2 separate regions of the Homo sapiens genome follow, and region 2 is linked to region 1. Evidence: promoter capture Hi-C in human tissues and cell types (Jung and others, 2019). All regions are on one chromosome and are shown on one strand. Each heading gives the region's core, a stretch centred on a gene start or on the middle of the fragment in contact. The rest is flanking DNA. Distances are from core to core; before and after follow the strand shown. Region 1 holds the start of DNPH1 (2'-deoxynucleoside 5'-phosphate N-hydrolase 1). Region 2 holds the start of SLC22A7 (solute carrier family 22 member 7).

Region 1 (4,473 bases), core at 1,970-4,469:
GGGATGTCCAGGGGAACCCAGCACTCCAGAGGAGTTAGGTGCTGGAAGGAGGGAGCGCCACTCACCGTCCGCCTGCTGCAGCCACTCCAGGTCCTGCTCATGGATGAGCCTGTCACCCCCAGCAGCCTCTTCCCCTGTGTTGAGGGAAAGCTGGTCAAGGACATGCCTCATGCTGGCTCCCAGTAACTCCTATGCCCTTGTATGTCCATACCCACCCTGCTCAGGGAGGGTGGGAGCCTTGTGCCAGATGACCTGACCAAACATGACAATCTCATCAAAGCAGCGAGGAAATGGAATAGCCACAAAAAGAAAAATTCAACCCTATGCAAGGTGGGACATGTGATTAGGGCCGAATGAGGAACATCAGCAGCACTAACTGTGGATGACATTGATTAGGGAAAGGTGCATGGGCACTTAGCCAAAAGTAGGAGAGGCATCCTAGGCCCAGAAGGTAGGGATCTCGGGTCTTAGCTTGATTAAATGTTATCTTCCAGGACAGTGAGGCTCAGCCCACCGCATCAGGGTAGGACCACTGGGGAGCTTGTTAGAAGTACAGATTCCAGGGCCAGGCGCGGTGGCTCATGCCTGTAATCCCAGCACTTTGGGAGGCTGGGGCGGGTGGATCACTTGAGGTCAGGAGTTCAAAACCAGCCTGGCCAACATGGTGAAACCCCATCTTTACTAAAAATACAAAAATTAGCTGGGTGTGGTGGTGCACACCTGTAATCCCAGCAACTTGGGAGGCTGAAGCAGGAGAATCACTTGAACCCAGGAGGCGGAAGTTGCAGTGAGCTGAGATCGCACCACTGCACTCCAGCCTGGGCAACAGAGCAAAACTCCATCTTAAAAAAAACAAGAAAAAGTACAGATTCGGGCCAGGCGCGGTGGCTCACGCCTGTAATCCCAGCACTTTGGGAGGCCAAGGCGGTAGGATCACGAGGTCAGGAGTTTGAGACCAGTCTGGCCAACATGGTGGAACCCCATCTCCACTAAAAATTAAAAAATTAGCCAGGCGTGGTAGCAGGCGCCTGTAATCCCAGCTACTCGGGAGGCTGAGGCAGGAAAATTGCTTGAACCTGGGAGGAGGAGGTTGCAATGAGCGGAGATCACTCCACTGCACTCCACCCTGGGCGACAGAGCAAGACTCTGTCTTGGGGGAAAAAAAAAAGTACATATTCGAAGGCTTTATCCCAGATGATCAGAACCTGCATTTTTAACAGGCTCCCTCAGATGACACTAAAGACCTGGAGAGCCACCAGGCAGTCTGGATATACCATGAACTAATGAGCTGTAAGCTTCAGGGTCCTCCACTTGCACAGGCCCTTTCCAAACCATCAGCAACTTTGTATTGTGATTTTTGTCTTTTTAAAGAGGTCTCCCAGAATTGCATGAGGTCCCACAAATTGTGGGTCTGCTCTTGGGTAGGATAAGTGGAAACCACTTAAGGTTTTCTGAGCAGAAGCACAAGCATTCAAGATACAATTTTCAAACTGGAAGGATCTGCAAGATTCCAGACCAGCACATCAAATATGCTTTAGAGAAATCCAGCCAGACTCAGCGGCTCATGTCTGTAATCCCAACACTTTGGGAGGCTGAGGCAGGCAGATCACTTGGGCTCAGGAGTTCAAGACCAGCCTGGCCAACATGGCAAAATCCCGTCCCTATAAAAAATACAAAACTTAACCAGGTATGGCGGCACACACCTGTAGTCCCAGCTACTTGGGAGGCTGAGGTGGGAGGATTGCTCAAGCCCGGGAGGCAGAGGTTAGCAGTGAGCTGAGATTTTGCCACTGCACTCCAGCATGGGTAATAGAACAAGACTGTTTCCAAATAAATAACTAAATAAATAGAAAGAGAAAGAAAAACCCAGCAGCCAGGAGCAGAACACAATAATGGCCTGAAAGAGAATATGAGGCCAGCATGGGGGCTCACATCTATAGTCCCAGCACTTCGGGAGGCCTGAGGCGGGAGGATCACTTGAGGCTAGGAGGTCGGGACCAGACTGGGCAACATAGTGAGACTCCCAATCTCTACAGAAAAATTTTGAGCCAGGCATGGTGTCGTGCCCCTGCAGTCCTTGCTAATAGGAGGCTGAGGCTGGAGGATCATGAGTTTAGGAAGCCGAGGCTGCAGTGAGCTATGATCGCACCACTGCACTCCAGCCTGGGCGACAGAGAGGCCCTTGTATCAACAAAACAAAAATGTGAGAGAGGGTAATAGTGAGAACTGGGGTCAGCCAGGTCTAAAAGAGTGCTGATGTCTTCACAGAAAAAGGGGAGGCAGGCCCTGGGCGGTGGCTCCTGTCTGTAATCCCAGCACTTTGGGAGGCCGAGGCGGGCAGATCACCTGAGGTCAGGAGTTCGAAACCAGCCTGACCAATATGGTGAAACACCGTCTCTACTAAAAATACAAAAAGTAGCCGGGTGTGGTGACGCGTGCCTGTAGTCCCAGCTACTCGGGAGGCTGAGGCAAGAGAATCACTTGAACCCGGGAGGTCGAGGTTGCAGTGAGCCGAGATCACGCAACTGCACTCCAGCCTGGGCGACAGAGTGAGATTCCGTTTCAAAAACAAAACAAAACAAAACAAAAAAAGTTGGTGGGGAGGCAGGAGGATACCTTTCGTGTTGGGTGGTGGAAAAGATTCCAGCGGGTGAGGTGGGAACTGAGCCCAAGCAAAGCAGCCCAATCTACCTTCTTTCTGTTGCACCCTACAAACGCTCTGAAAGCAGCTGAAGACAGAGTTCTCCAAGAAGGAACCAAAGGTCAAGATAATGCTGAGTCTGCCTTACACCCGCAGGCTTGCTGGGACCCACGCAGCCCGAGCCCCGGCCCGTTTCCTTCTCGGGCTGGGGCGCTGGATGGAGCACCGGGGTAGGAGGGCGGGCTCCGGGCGCCGGGAGCGCAGCTGCCGGGGGTCGGGGGGGCGGACAGGCCGGGTCCCTGCCACCCCAGCCAGGTCCGCGCCCGCGTCCCCGCGTCCCGCGGCCCCAGGGCCTCACCGCGCGCGCCCAGCTCGGCGGCCGCCACGTGCTCGGTGAGCACTGTCCCGAATCGCCGCAGCCGAGACACGATCCGCTCGTACAGCGTCCTGTCCTCGCGTCCGCCGCGAATGCTCCCGCAGAAGTACAGGGCCGGGCGGCCAGGCTCCCCGCGCTCCCAGCTCTCGCTGCGCCCCGGCACCATGGCAGCAGCCATTCCCCAGCCGCCCGCGCTCTCCGGCGCCAGGGGGCGCCAGCCCGCGGCCACGTGACCCCGCCCGGCCCAGCGCAGAGCCCGGCTGCTGAGTCCACACCTGTGGAATGGGGACGACGAACTGGGAGGATCCAGCCGGGACCCTTTCGGGAACACACCCTTCCTGGACTTGACGTTCGGATGCCTAACACGCACCTTAACTTGACCTTGTCCAGGCAGAACTCGAGGGCTTCCCCACCTCACCCGCTTCTGCTCCCCTCCTCCCCGCCGTCTTCCCCAGCTGCATCCTCCCAGCTGCTCAGGCCCAAGACCCTCGGAGTCATCTGGATCGTTCCCTTTCTCTCAAACTCTGCGTCCCATCCATTGACAACTCGTGTGGATTCGTCCTTCCAAATCTGAAATCTCACGACCGCCTACAGGGCCACCACCCTGGTCTAAGCCTCCTCTGGGCTCTCCACAGCCTCCTAACAGGTGTCCACATGTCGTGAGCTGCTCAAGGTCAGACAGAACCAGGTCCACCCACCTTTGTGTCTGTCCACAAGATCAGGTTTTTACTGATGCTATTTCAATCACAAAAGCTAGGCGTCACACGGAGTTCCCAAGAAGTCAGTTCTCCTTAGGACCACCTGTTCACTCGGTAGTCAGAGCCGCGGGCATGCAAGCTGGAGCCACTCCACAAGTCAGACTGTATTGCAAACCATCCATAGTATTATATGTAAGGATATAAATGTTACAGGTTAAAATTTCACATCAAACACAAGAACATTTAACATCAAGAGAAAAGGGGTTAACGAACCAGTCCAAGGAGAGTGCTGTGGACAGAGTCCCGGCCTGATGGGGATAGTCATCAAGAGCTTGCAAGGAAGAGTCCTTGATTTGGGCAGAGCCTTCAGAGGCAGACACCAGGTGCTGGGCACGAGTGATAGCAAGACTCGGTCTGTTAAGGTGGCCGTGTCTAGCTGCTGAAGTCCTGATCATTTTATGGTCCTTGAGTCCTCTGATGAGGACTTATAGTAAAGGGTGATGCCCTTATCTGGTTGGGTGTTGTCTCCATTGGTTAGGCGAACATCTGGACCCTGTTGGCTTGATGCCTTTTGAAATGTAAGATGAAGTTTTTTAAAACTTTATTTATTTATTTATTTATTATTTTTGGTGACAAGGTCCCTGTCGCCCACACTGGAGTGCAGAGGCACGATCATTGCTCACTGCAGCCTCAAACTCGTGCCTCAAGTTTGAGGGTTCAAGGAATCCTCCCACCTCAGCTTCCTGAGTAGCTAGGAC
Region 2 (4,456 bases), core at 1,617-4,116, 69 kb after region 1:
CCACTACGCCCAGCTAATTTTTGTATTTTTAGTAGAGACGGGGTTTCACCATGTTGGCCAGGCTGGTCTCGAACTCTTGACCTCCAGTGATCCACCCGCCTTTGCCTCACAAAGTGCTGGGATTACAGGCGTGAGCCACCATGCCTGGCCAGGAGTTATTTTCCATTGCACAAGGCTCCTCTCCATCCAGTTTGGTATAAATGAAGGTCTCTACCTTGGCCTCTGAGCTCAGGTTAGAATTCCCAGGTTGGAGGGGTGGGAGGATGGTTAAAATATAATCAAAACCAGCTCTTAACTGGTGATTCAGAGTTGATCTATCCATCCTCTGGTTAGACTCAGCATTTCATACCTGCCTGTCCAGCTCCATCATCAGCCATCATGGTCACTGTCACCATCATTCTTCAATGACATCAGAGAAGAGAGCTTCCCTATGAGGTAGGGCCAGGGAATAAGATGGAGCCAGAGGTAAAATTAATGCCAAATTACTCTCTGGAGAAAGGGGCTGCAGATTTATTTATTTTTTATTTTTGAGACAGAGTTCCACTCCTGTTGCCCAGGCTGGAGTGCAGTCGCACGATCTCGGCTCACTACAACCTCCACCTCCCAGATTCAAGCAATTCTCCTGCCTCAGCCTCCTGAGTAGCTGAGATTACAGGCGCTTGCCCCCATGTCCAGCTAATTTTTTGTATTTTTGGTAGAGACAGTTTTGCCATGTTGGCCAGGCTGGTCTCAAACTCCTGACCTCAGGTGACCCACCCGCCTTGGCCTCCCAAAGTGCTGGGATTACAGGCATGAGCCACTGTGCCTGGCCAGGGCTGCAGATTTAGATTTGAGTTTCCTAGGAGCCAATGTCAGGAGGGAGAGGTAACCACTGCATGATTATCAGCTATTTCTGATATTAAAGCAGGAGAGAAATTCCCATTGTGAAAACTAAGTCGTCACAGCCAATGGCTGAGGTTGGCCTCGTTAGCTGTCTTCTCTGGCTGTGAAAAAACTTCAGAGTATTACCCTGTGGAGCCACTGGATGGGACATGGAGATGGGGTGACCACAAAACTTACCTCTCAGGAGCTGCAAAGTGTTATGGTATTTTATACATTTTATATTAATAATATCATTACATAGTATTAAATGAGGGAGGAACCAACAGTGTGAGGTCACACGTGAGTGAGGATGAGAAGGGTGGAGGTGTCTCCCCTTGAGCTGGTCTTCAGGGAGGTTTGGGCATCCACTTGGTGAATGAGGAGGAAGCCACATTGTCCAAGGGACCACACTAGGGTGTGACATGCCAATGAGCTGGTGTGTGCAGAGAACTAGAGGGAAGGGAGCATGTTGGAGAGGGGTCAGGGGTGGACTGGGGGAGAGGATCTAGTCCTAGGGAAGTCATAAGGGCCAAGCTAAGGAGCTAGACTTTCCCCCTCAGGCAGCAGAAGCTGGTGAAGGGTTTTAAACAGGGATGTGACCCTCTTAGATTTGTGTTTAAATGTTCACTGTGGCCAGTGTATGGAGAATGGGTTGAAAGGGGTGAGACTGGAGACAGGGAGGGTTAGCTTATTTTAACCCTCCTGTAAGCTCCCTAAGGGTAGGGACCGTGTCTGAGGCATCTATGTACCCTCTAGAATGGCGAGGATGCACTAGAGACTCAAACATTTCTTCTCATTGTCACCCCCTGTCACTGCCACCACCATTAGCTGCCTCTTGCTTCACTCCATGGCTGTCAGCACCCCCATTAACACACGCCATGCCATCGATTTAGCTCCTTTCCCAGCGCTTTCTCAGGGATCCCAGCCTGGAGCAGACTGGGACATCACCAGCTCAGCAGCTTAGGTCAAAAGTGAGATTCCTGGTCTGGAGTCAGGGGACCTGGTCTTTTCTTCAGCTCTGCTGCTGAGTCATTGTGTGACCCCAGCAGGTCCCCTCCCTGTCTTTAGTTTTCTGACCTGTTCAAAGTAGGAGCTGGATTAAACCAGTGGGTCTGCCAGCTAAGTGTTTGGAGAATCAGATGAGAATAAACCAGACATTGCTGGTTTCTGCTGTACTTTTGCTGCAGGGACCATGATTGAGAATTGAGTGGGAGGGTCAGATTGAACATTTGAGTCTTAGGTATTGCATGTACCTTTGACAAGACCTTGGTAACTCCCCCTCCCCCATTCCCTACCCCTCCAAAAGGTAATCTTAGGCATTGCAGGTACCTTGGCAACATGTCCCCCGCCATTCCCTATCCCTCCAAAAGGTAATTTAGGAAGCTGCTGGAAATAGGGGAATGGGACAGGCAGTTGGAACCATATGTATGGGGAGAGTCCCTGAGTGAAGTGGGAATGGGATGAGCCTGGGATCCTCAGAGACATCAAGTTGCCCGGTGTGATCACAGGTGTGTCTTAGGCCAGGGCATCAGCTCCCAGCAGGGGAGAGGGATGCGAGGAGGCCTCATGGCTCAGCAGAAAGAAACCTGGTTAGGATCCAGCTTTCAGTCCTGAATCCTGGGCTGTCGGCCAGGCCATGGCTGTAGCTGCAAATAGGCAAGGCTGACCTAAGGTCTCACAGGACAAAGGGCACCCTGGGAGAGCTGGCCCCAGGCCCCAGGGGCCTCCTCTTCTTAGGGATCCTGGGAGCTCTGCTGACCAAGGGGCTAGGGGCTCACCTCCTATGCCATCACCCAGCTACCTCATCATGGTAGCCTTGGTCCCTGAACACTAATGGGTAAGCCCCAGAGCCACGAGCCAGTGACCTCTGAATGGATGGCTTCCCCTTCCCCCAGGCACCAGGCAAGACAGGTAGAGGTCCCTGGAGACCTGATGGCTGGGGAGGGCCCAGTCCTGGGCCAGCCCCTGAGGGCTGGATTCTGGCTGCAGGCTCTCCAGTCCATCCACTCCCACCTCCAGAGTCCAAGGGTCTATGTGGTGGGCAGTTTGAGCTGGCTGGATACTAGAGGGAGGCTGCACCTGAAGCATTTGGTGGGTGAGCAGCATGGGCTTTGAGGAGCTGCTGGAGCAGGTGGGCGGCTTTGGGCCCTTCCAACTGCGGAATGTGGCACTGCTGGCCCTGCCCCGAGTGCTGCTACCACTGCACTTCCTCCTGCCCATCTTCCTGGCTGCCGTGCCTGCCCACCGATGTGCCCTGCCGGGTGCCCCTGCCAACTTCAGCCATCAGGATGTGTGGCTGGAGGCCCATCTTCCCCGGGAGCCTGATGGCACGCTCAGCTCCTGCCTCCGCTTTGCCTATCCCCAGGCTCTCCCCAACACCACGTTGGGGGAAGAAAGGCAGAGCCGTGGGGAGCTGGAGGATGAACCTGCCACAGTGCCCTGCTCTCAGGGCTGGGAGTACGACCACTCAGAATTCTCCTCTACCATTGCAACTGAGGTACTTAAGCCCAGAAGTTGAGAGACATGTGAGAGGGATGGGCCTGCCATTGCCTTGGGTGGTTACTGTGTAGGCATTAGATGTATTACTTTACCTCTTAAAGTCTCAGTTTACCAATCTGTAGATGGGGGCTATGAATATAAGGCACTTTTAGTTCATGGCTTGTAGTAACAGGATCCTACACAAGAACTGTTATCATCATCATTAATTGGGAGGTGATTAAGGCAGGGAAGGGCTAAAGTGGCTTCAGGGAGTTGAGACAAAGAGCTGAGAAGGCAATTTCTGCAGCAAGAGGTGGAGAAACAATAGAGGCCTTCTTTTCTCCCTTCCTCTTTTCCAGTCCCAGGTCGGTATTTACATAATCCATCTGGAGGTGGAATGTCGGTGGAGGCAGTCTCCCTGGGAGGCAGCAGGTCGAGGCCTTCCTTGGGAAGAAGCTGAGGCTGCAGGACTGGGGAGGGACAAAGTTTCCTATTCCCCAAGCTGGCGTGAATCGTTGGGAGGTTTATTATCTGGCATGGAGGTACCAGAATGGCAGAGTTCGCCTCAGAAGGCTCCAGGGTCTGGAGAGGAGGAGCTGGTGCCTGCTGGAGAGGGGCTGATGTTCATAGGAGGTCCCTTTCTGCCTGTCCTTGCAGTGGGATCTGGTGTGTGAGCAGAAAGGTCTGAACAGAGCTGCGTCCACTTTCTTCTTCGCCGGTGTGCTGGTGGGGGCTGTGGCCTTTGGATATCTGTCCGACAGGTGGGGTGAGGCACTGGGCCAATAAGAAACTGGCTGGGGGAACTTTCTCCCACTAGCTGGGGTATGAGCCTAGTCTACCTATGCCTTAGAACCTCCTTCCACAGGGAACTGACCCTGCATGACCCCTTTGCAGGTTTGGGCGGCGGCGTCTGCTGCTGGTAGCCTACGTGAGTACCCTGGTGCTGGGCCTGGCATCTGCAGCCTCCGTCAGCTATGTAATGTTTGCCATCACCCGCACCCTTACTGGCTCAGCCCTGGCTGGTTTTACCATCATCGTGATGCCACTGGGTGAGGCAGGCAAGAAACAGGCAGGACCTAGAGGGCTGGAAGAAGGCAGTTGTCAGAGTGAGGCTGAG

The links. Contacts are between HindIII fragments. The study calls those that stand out against the background at their distance.
Region 2: the fragment with the promoter of SLC22A7 here is called in contact with the fragment with the promoter of DNPH1 in region 1 in 3 of the 25 tissues and cell types used here (IMR-90 fibroblasts, adrenal gland and stomach).

What each region holds. Positions count from the first base shown.
Region 1 is chr6:43,226,262-43,230,734 of GRCh38, forward strand. It overlaps DNPH1 (2'-deoxynucleoside 5'-phosphate N-hydrolase 1), which reads right to left and starts at 3,220. Exons shown (of 4, transcript NM_006443.3): 1 at 3,000-3,220; 2 at 66-134. The coding sequence starts at 3,195. RefSeq lists silencers at 2,829-3,018, 3,079-3,518 and an enhancer at 3,002-3,501. The HindIII fragment of the contact is 36,780 bases long and covers 1-4,473 here.
Region 2 is chr6:43,295,394-43,299,849 of GRCh38, forward strand. SLC22A7 (solute carrier family 22 member 7) reads left to right here and starts at 2,867. Exons shown (of 11, transcript NM_153320.2): 1 at 2,867-3,358; 2 at 3,699-3,704; 3 at 3,997-4,100; 4 at 4,234-4,388. The coding sequence starts at 2,966. It overlaps LOC124901319 (a long non-coding RNA gene), which reads right to left. Exons shown (of 2, transcript XR_007059582.1): 2 at 3,549-4,423. The HindIII fragment of the contact is 32,193 bases long and covers 1-4,456 here.